Regions from separate parts of the Homo sapiens genome. Here region 2 is linked to region 1. Evidence: promoter capture Hi-C in 16 types of primary human blood cells and fetal thymus (Javierre and others, 2016). All regions are on one chromosome and are shown on one strand. The core of a region is centred on a gene start or on the middle of the fragment in contact, and the rest is flanking DNA. Distances in the headings are between cores, read along the strand shown. Region 1 holds the start of CH25H (cholesterol 25-hydroxylase). Region 2 overlaps STAMBPL1 (STAM binding protein like 1).

Region 1 (4,878 bases), core at 1,479-3,978:
GTTGGTTGGGGCTGGGGACTCAAAGGAGACAGTCTTGACAGCAAATCTAGCAGCTAAATCCAAATTAAGCAAACCTGCTAATGCCACTCACTTAAAAAAAAAATCTTTCTTGCTCTCGCAACCAGAGCACCCAAGCATGATAACTGAGACCACAAGAAAAGGACAATGTGTGCTGAAAGGAAATTTGAGGGCTAACTTCTGTTGAGGGTAAATTTGAGTGATATTTTACTTATGAGCAGAAATCCAATTTTAATGTTGAGAAAGTGAGCTCTAATGGTCCGTTTGGAGCAGTGAGAAGGACGCTCTTCTCTGAAACACTGCATCAAGGACAAGACCACGTCTAGCCGGAATGAGAAGAAAAGTTTCTGGTTTACCCTAAAAGTGAAGTGAAAACAACACTGGGGAAGGGAGGAGATGTTGTGGGGGGTGGGGGCGCATGGGCGGTAGAGGTGGAGAGCCTTGGAAGGACAGGTTGTTTAACTGGAAGCAACTAGGGGCCTACATTATACCTATTTTCTGCTATCATCTAGAAATCAAAGCAGCAGCATTAGAAAAATTCACCCTTGTTCCCTTTTTGTATTGGCTGTCAAGAAACTCAACACTGCTTCTGAACCTTTATCTCATCAACAGCAAATATGTCAGCAGAATATAATAATGTTTTCATAGTACCCTGGGTTAAATAAAAAGGCTGCTGTAGGGCTAGAGGCTACTGCTGAGGGCTCCTGGGAATGAGCATCTAAGGAATGTCAGTATTCCATCAGTGGCAGTTAGTGGACACACACCAGTTAGGAGATTCTGAATTACAAATTGGCCTATTATATGTATCTATATCTTATATATTACATATTATGAATTGGCATATTATATATATCATATGTATGCATATATACCATATATGATCTTAGTTTTAGGCCCATATATTGGTCCATATTTTTGTAGTACTTGTTCTTTCCTCATAATAGATGGCGTTATATCTTTTATTTCTCTTTACATAATCTTACTTGATTTTAATTTCAAATTTCTCAGTTATTCTTTAGGTAACGTGTGGAGTACAAATTTAAAATACCATGCATATTACTTGGTGTGTTTGCTGTGTGCTAGGACCTATGATTTTACTGCTGTAAACCCACAGCAATAATAATAATCCTACTTCTTGGCAGGGTGAGGAAGCCAGCTTTTTTGAGGATTGGATAAAATCAATTCAGATAAAACATTTAGCCAATGCGTGGCACCTAGTAGGTGGGCTTTACACGGTAGACTTATTATTTTTCCATTTAATACTCCAATTTCCCTTTGTGGGGAATCGGGGGGATAAGAAAATGCAAGCTTCAAGGAGTAAAGGGCTGGACACAACCACATAGATACAAGACACTAAGCAAGAATTAGGAGTGCTCCCTGGCTTCAAAGCTGGTGTCTAAAACGTCTATCCCCTAAGGGGCCCTTGTATCGTGTCATGTGTCAGACCCCGGGTTGAACGCGAGGATTTTTGTGCTGTTCCCAGGGTCTCTCAAGAGCTCTCCTAGTACCGACCTCCTTGTGCTCGGTGGCCCCTGGCCCGAGGACCCCAGATGGGTGGCGGAGAAACGCAGGGGATAGAGACTAGCCCCCTAGCCGGGCTCCGTGGGCCCGGAGTGGATTCAAGGACCGGTGGCAGAGGGCGACTGCAAGTTGGCCCCGCAAAGCCAACAAGGGGAAGGGTAGGGTAGTGACGACATCACCTGGTCCTTCAATAGCCTCCCGGGAGGCTTCAGGAACTCACATCTCTTTCCCTTGACGAACAACGCAGGTGGTTTGCTGAATTAAGTGTTCCCGCCCCAAATTGAGATACAACGGGCTTTTTAGCCAGATTGGCGCAGACTGGGAGTTAAATCCAGCATTTTCCCGGCAAAGCTGAGCCTGGCCGCCGCGGAGCCCTCTTTCCGCTGTGCGGTGCCTCCGGCTCCGATCGCGGGCCCGGCGCCCCGGGACGCGCCGCCGAGGGTAGCTACGCGGCCGGGCTGCGGCCTCTCCCGGAGAGCCTGCGTGCGTGGTCTCTCTAGCTTGCTGCCCGCCGGCCAGGAAAACTCTGGGGACAAGCTGGAGCTGGCGGAGGTTCCCATCCGGCCACCCTTCCCGTCTGATTTCCTGAGCTGACGGTCACCGCCGGCGTTCGGGGACCAGCGGTTCCCTGTGCAAAGGGCTCGTTTCTCGATCGCCGCTGGATAGACCGCAACCGGGTTCTCAGAAAACACCCGAGCTACAGACCGCATGTAGCTTTAAACAGTTTTTAAAATGCGATTATGCTTGCGTCTTTATGAAAGCACATGGATGCAGTTATACGTATGCATTAAAAAACACAAACAATTCTGCATTGATTGCAAAGGAGCGCTTTCTGGTGGCAATGTAAACGGTCTAGTTTGAGACCCGTGATGACACACGTGAACTGAGTTGCCAAACTCATAGAAACTCCACACGGTAGATCTGTACATTGTGTCCCGTGTTAATTGTACGTCAACTGAAAAATCAGAACTTACATGAAAAGTACGAAGTGCCACTGCATACACGCATATCTAAAAGCCGGTAAGATGCGGCTATAGATGAGCACATTTACAGCAATGAAGGGCCACTCTGCCGGGTTGCTAGCTTATTCAAGCTTCGCATCGCCGGGAAAGGGATGGAAAGGCAGCTGACATCACTCGGGGCGGGGCCGTGAGTCCTGTGAAAAGTCGATGGGACTCGAGCAGCAGCCTCAGCTGCCTTGCACAGCCTCGCAATGAGCTGCCACAACTGCTCCGACCCCCAGGTCCTTTGCAGCTCCGGGCAGCTGTTCCTGCAGCCCCTCTGGGACCACCTGAGGAGCTGGGAGGCCCTCCTACAGTCGCCCTTCTTCCCGGTCATCTTCTCCATCACCACATACGTGGGCTTTTGCCTGCCCTTCGTGGTCCTGGATATCCTGTGCTCCTGGGTGCCCGCCCTGCGGCGCTACAAGATCCACCCTGACTTCTCGCCATCCGCGCAGCAGCTGCTACCTTGCCTGGGGCAGACCCTCTACCAGCATGTGATGTTTGTGTTCCCCGTGACGCTGCTGCATTGGGCCCGCAGCCCGGCCCTCCTGCCCCACGAAGCTCCCGAGCTGCTCCTGCTGCTGCACCACATCCTGTTCTGCCTGCTACTCTTCGACATGGAGTTCTTCGTGTGGCACCTGCTGCACCACAAGGTGCCCTGGCTGTACCGCACCTTCCACAAGGTGCACCACCAGAACTCGTCCTCGTTCGCGCTGGCAACGCAGTATATGAGCGTCTGGGAACTGTTTTCTTTGGGCTTCTTCGACATGATGAACGTCACACTGCTCGGGTGCCACCCGCTCACCACCCTGACCTTCCACGTGGTCAACATCTGGCTTTCCGTGGAGGACCACTCCGGCTACAACTTCCCTTGGTCCACTCACAGACTGGTGCCCTTCGGGTGGTACGGGGGTGTGGTGCACCACGACCTGCATCACTCTCACTTTAACTGCAACTTCGCTCCGTACTTTACACACTGGGACAAAATACTGGGAACGCTGCGGACTGCATCTGTCCCAGCGCGGTGATGTGGCTGCGGTGGGTGCCCCTAAGACTCGGGACTGCTGTGCCTTTCACACTTGAATGAAGAGAAACACCTGAGCTATATATTTTTTTAAAGCAACTAACTTATTGCTTTATGTTTATCTATGAAAACCATAGATAAAATCTGATGCATTTTTGTAATCTGACAAAGTAATTTACATACTGTTTGTGTATCAATACAATTTTGTGTTCTTGGTATTCTTAGTCTAGCTCACCTCAATAGCCTTGAATCCTGCATATGAATTAGACATTCATCACTGGCATATTTAGAATATCTCTAAAAGGACTTGTTTGTAGAATAAGGAATTTTCTATGTTTCAAAGTGTTCTAAAACCTGGCTAAAAGAATGTATTTTTGTGGATGGTGTTGACTTCTGACTCTAAAAGCAATCAAACATGTTTCTGCTGGACAGTGACCAAGAATTATAGTACCTTCTTATATTTTTTTATAGAACTGTATATTTATTTTGAAAGAAATGTTATTCGTGCTTTAAAAAGGAAAAAAAACCATGAATCAAATAAGTATTGACTTCCGTTTCACTGGTATTTTGACTGATAAAAAAGGGAAGAGGGAGCGGGCATACCAAGTGTCCTTCTAAGCCTCCATCAGCCTCACCATGGAAAGAGAGGAATCTGGGTGTAGGGTGTTCTGTTGGGGGTTGTTAGAGAAAAGGAGGCAGGAGAAGGGGCTCTGTTTGTTGTGCTCTAGCAATTTCATGGAGGAAAAACACGCTAATATTCTTAATGCTTTTCAGCTGATTTCTGTATAACAGGCAAATGATAGGATTACTCTGTAAAGTTTCATAGAAAGATTAACGCTGAGCAGTCAATCATTTTATTATTTGTGGGAATGGATTAGGGGAAGAACAGAATTGGAGGCGTGCCTTGCTTTGCAAAACTGGTGAGTCAATAGTATACACTAGAGTGGCTGATAGATGTGCAAGGGGATTCTGAGGAAGCCCCTGTTTTCATGAATCCATCCATAGCTACTGCAAATGAACATCAAAGCATTGCTTCTGAAATCTGGAATTTCTGTATATTCAGTTTTCTTAATTAAAACATACATGCAGCAGGTACAGCCCTTTCTAAAAGAAAGATAAAGTGAAATTTGGCCCTGGATCCCTGATTCCTCATGTGGAAAAGGAGGAGGTGTCCCAGATGTTCTTGCAGATGACAGTAAATATTCCTATTATTAACCACACACCCATCACCCATCACTCACCCCATCTAACTCCTGCCTATTCATTTTAGTTTTGTTTTTGGAATATATATAGTGTAGAGTTAAAAATCAA
Region 2 (4,954 bases), core at 446-2,945, 300 kb after region 1:
AAGGGCTCACAGGCATTGCTGTTTATCTCTCCTAGGCTCAGTCCTGCTATTCTAAACCCACAGAGATTCCCACATGGGTCACCACTGTAGGCTATGAAGTGACTGGTATCAAAGGCAAAACATGCAACAGCTGCAGAGCCTGTTCCTCCCAGGAAGATCATGAAGAGGAAGATCATACACATTGCTGACCGTGGAAAGGAGACTTGAACTGGGCTTTCGTCTCCCTTGCTGTTGTTGCTTTGTCTTACCCTCCAAGAAAATTTCTATCTTTCATATTTCAAGTCACATTATTAATATACACACTTGAGGGACATTTCCAATTTCACCATTCCCTCTACCACTTCGTTAAAACTCTCCACTCAAGCCAGCCTTCCACCTATGCCCATAGAAAGTCAAAAAGCTCAATGAGCATTCTCAGAGATGATGAGATTGAACTGAAGTGAGAGTCAGTGAAGGTGGTAACCCCTAAAGCAAATAAAACACAAACAAAAAAGCAAAATAACATCTATAATGATGCTATGTTGAACGTGAGTATCCCATACATTCACTGGCCAATTTCTTCTTCCAATGCCTTTCTGCCTCTCAGACATTATCATAATGTTCACTCTTTATTAATAACAATCCAGAAGCCACCACTTTTGGGTGATATGATTACATTTCAACCACAAGGTTAGCTGTTATTCTATCTCAATGCAATACTGACTGTAACATTCTAAGAATCAAATTCACATTTCTAAGGCCTACATCATTAGGCACATCAGAAACCATATACTGCTCTCCCTACCTCCTACTGGCTGTTCATCTGGCAAAAGAGCAGCCATCTGGCTCAAGGTTATCTGGCTCAAGAGTTAATCAAAAAGTTCTACTTAAATCGCTGCAGGAAATCTGTTTTCTAACACATTGCTTTGTTAGATATTGTAGGGAAATAGAAATACCACATTGTTGGTGAAACTGCTTAACCTGGATATCAGCATAAATTTTTTATTGGTTCCATATCACTGCATCTTTAATTTTTAATTTAAATGCACAAAACATTTGAAAAACTCATCACATAAAAATGAAATTCAAAAAATACTTGTACATAAAATAGTCATGAAATAAATGTACCAACTGAACTTACTTTGCTTTGCAAATATTCTTGGTATTCTACGTTATATTTCTTTAAAAGGTCGTTTTTCAATTCATCTGTCCTTGGGAATGCAATCTCCTTCAGTTTCTTTTAAAAATATATATACATATTGATTAGTGGGATTTTCAATACACTCTTTCAGATCATCAGGTGAGAAAGAAAAACAGCTGGTAGGTATACTGCAAATAAAGTCATGAGTAACCAAAGATGATGGCAGAAAAATAAATCTCTTTTTTATGGGTCCAAAATATAACTTTCCAGCAGGAAAGAAACACTATTATCCCTTTTGTAAGACCTTTATTGGCCCCACTGATTGGATAAGCATTTTGTTATAGCCCAATGCTATAAAATGTAAATAGCTAGAACTTTGTGGCTACCTTTGTGGTACCCCATTTTTAGGCAGTGAGTTTGAGATCAATGACTTGTTCTATAGTACATAAATCATGTAGCATCAGAATTAGAAGGGATGTGAGAGAATATATGGTGGATAGGGATTTCCAGACATGCTAGACTGTAAAAAGAATAGCTGAGGCACTTTTTATAAAAATACAGACCCCCCCAAGCCTAATCTGGATCTACTGAATTAACACCTGTAGAGAAGGGGTCTGGGAATCTGGATCTCAAACAGCTTCCTCAGAGATCGTTAATGGCAGGAAAATCTGGGAATTCTTATATAGTCCAACTACCTCTTCTTTTTTAGAGTTGAGGATACAAAGGCCTGGAGAGACTGAAAGTCCTGTTCGGTATTATGCAACCAGCTAGCGGCCCATTTAGGACTGGAACTCAAGTCTCCTGACTCTAGCTCTTTCACCAAATTTCTATTCTCTTAATCCTTTGTCATTCATTTATGTATTTATTCATATATCTATTCAATAAGCATAAACAAGGGAAATGTATATGGTTTTGGAGAATTTTTCTCCTACAAAAAAAATAAGCATAACCCTAAGTTATAGTACATGAGTCACCGTGACAGCCTGGTACCTTTGGTTTCCAAACAGAACTCTCTGAGGTTGAATGAACAAGAGAACTGAGGGGAAATGTTACACAAAGACATGATAATAAATGATACTTCAGGTAAGTGACTGTAGACATTAAAAAAGTTGGCTGGGTGCGGTGGCTCACACCTGTAATCCTAACACTTTGGGAGGCAGAGGCAGGTGGATCACTTGAGGTCAGGAGTTCAAGACCAGCCTGGCCAACATGGTGAAACCCCATCTCTATTAAAAATACAAAAATTAGCTGGGCATGGTGGCAGGTGCCTGTAATCCCAGCTACTCAGGAAGCTGAGGCAGAGAATTGCTTGAACCCAGGAGGCGGGGGTTGCAGTGAGCCGAGATTGCGCCACTTCACTCCAGCCTAGGTGACAGAGCAAGACTCTGACTCTAAATAAATAAATAAATAAATAATGTAGATGACCATTTGACAAAATCTGCATTTTGCTTATGCATCCTCAGGTCTGAAAATACTCATAGGAAAGCCTTTATTTCATTATTTGGTAAAGTGTTTTTCAAAAATTATTTAAAATTTCATGCTACAATTGGCTTTGTGTACATGATTTTATCTTCCTTCATATAAGACCAACACAAACTATTAAAGACAAATAAATGGGAAACATTGTAAATGTTTATTTAAAAGAATATATTCACAGCTAGACATAACCAAAATTATAGATATAGCAATTATTGGTGATAAATCATTAAAAAATTGATGATAAATTGCAACACTCTTTTTCCTTTATAGTATTTTAGTCTACCACCTCCTGCTTCCCCCACAACACTTTCTAATCTATAATTCCAGTCCTATAAGATGTAAATAGCTAGAACTTTGTGGCTGCCTTAATAACTAACACTAATTTTCAAACAGTTATTGAGTTCAGGGCTGTATAAAATAATCAAAAGCAGCCAAAATGACCATCTGAAAGAAGTTCGCAGAAATACACAACATTCTCTTAACCTCTGGGAGAGATTATTGTAAAATAATTCCTTCCTCACACTATTAGGTAACGTATTTCTTTCTTTTCCCCCAGCATCAATTAGACAAACCACACTGGCTCAGTGATGATCATTAAATGTCTAAGAAAAAATCGAAACATCATAGTTAATGGAATGAATTTCTTGCGCTCAAACTCTCAAGAGAAAGAGAAAGGGGAGGAAGGGGAAGGGTGAATCAATAATGGATACTTATGGAGCATTTGATTCCACAGTGGAGAAGAAAACCCACAATACCTTCATAATATCCTGCTTTTCAGGTACTGCACATTGCTGGTAATCTCGATGGTTAGGAAGCTTTTCTACAAATAAGCTAAGGAAGAGAAAACATGTCCTTAGCATTATGTGACAGCAAAAGTTCAATAATGCTTTCTAATAAGGGAATGAGGATCCTTTTTCAAAAATGACATGTTTAATAACTTATTCATTTACCTTCAGTCTTGCCATCTGCCTTTTCACTAAAGTCTGGCATGAGTATTATTTTGGTATTAATGGTTAAGCTCAACCAACTAAGCACCAAAGCTAACAAGATTAAGGTCAGGGTACTTTCCAAACAGTTCAAGTCACTTTGATCTTTCTCAGGTACTGCATGCTTAGCCCCAAAAGAGCACCACCTTACTTTAGCATACTGCTGGCAACAGAGAGAATCACATAAAAATATCAGAGCATGGAAAGAGTGATGTAAATCCCTTCTCACTCTTGAAAAAAACTCAAACGACCACTGATGAATCAGCAGCGCCATCGTGTATCAAAAAACTCTTAACCGAAAACTCATAACTAAGAAAAGTGACAACCAGAATCCCTAGTGAATTAGGAGTTGCTAATTAGGAATTCATTATTTTTCGTCACCGTTTGAGGAACAAGAGACAGCAGCAGTGAAAGGAAATTCCTACAGCAAACCAGGTGCATCGCTTCCAGGTAAAGTGAAGAAACTGCTACCACAAAGGCAGGGAATTCTCTTTTTTATGCACTGATGTATCCTCAGCCTGAAGAATAGCATCCAGCTCATAATAAGTGCTCAATAAATATTTGCAAAATGAATGAATAACCCTTCCTTGATAAATCATAATGAGCTGTAAATGCTATTTCTGATCAAACAATATGCCTTATACTTACTGATTCTGTAAATCAAATCATACACACATATACTCATCATTTAATTTCATCTGATCACAAGGTTATAGGTTAGACAGAAATGTTAGCATAATTCCCATTTTAAATGAGAAAATTAAGGCTTAAAGAAGCTTTAAAAGTTGTTAGCTATCTAAGCCTTTATAAATAGAATAAATTCAAAGACATTTAGAGCAGAGGGGACCTCAGAGATTTTCTCCCATAAATCTTTCATTTGTAGATGAGGAACTAAGGCCCAGGAAGAATAAGTGAATTACAAATTATCATACAACTAATAATACAAGAGAATTCAAATATTTTGATTACACAGTAATTCTGAGATATAGGGGCCTTTTCCTTTTCACCAGGCTCACAATTCCATAGGAACATATGCAAGATCAGAGCAGAAGGTGAAAAAGAAATATTATTAATTGGTAACTTATTCAGAAACAAAAATTATTGGAAAAGTTTGGCTATCAATGGTGGAGAATAACTTCTAATTTCATATTTATTACTTAACTTTCTAAAAACAAGTGATTTTCCCAGGTAGGGTGAAGGTTGCCAACCATTCTCTAAATTTTCAAGTTCAGTAACTTGAATAAAATGCAGATCTCAATTTTTGCATACCATGTAAACTGCCTTTAATTTTGCCCTCGGTAGAATCATGGAAGGCAATTTTTAAAATATTGTATCTTTCAACTTCTTAAATGTTCTCAGGCTAAGCCCC

The links. Contacts are between HindIII fragments. The CHiCAGO score rates a contact against its expected background, and 5 or more counts as called.
Region 2: a fragment that was not itself captured here is called in contact with the fragment with the promoter of CH25H in region 1 in 1 of 17 cell types (naive CD8 T cells); the score reaches 5.6 in naive CD8 T cells.

What each region holds. Positions count from the first base shown.
Region 1 is chr10:89,205,167-89,210,044 of GRCh38, reverse strand. CH25H (cholesterol 25-hydroxylase) reads left to right here and starts at 2,728. Exons shown (of 1, transcript NM_003956.4): 1 at 2,728-4,416. The coding sequence starts at 2,753. The coding sequence ends at 3,571. RefSeq lists an enhancer at 2,887-2,956. The HindIII fragment of the contact is 3,745 bases long and covers 2,635-4,878 here.
Region 2 is chr10:88,907,178-88,912,131 of GRCh38, reverse strand. It overlaps STAMBPL1 (STAM binding protein like 1), which reads right to left. Exons shown (of 11, transcript NM_020799.4): 4 at 3,355-3,430; 5 at 1,121-1,216. Among named protein-coding and RNA genes, the nearest start is that of ACTA2-AS1, 23 kb to the left of the region's middle. The HindIII fragment of the contact is 3,443 bases long and covers 1-3,416 here.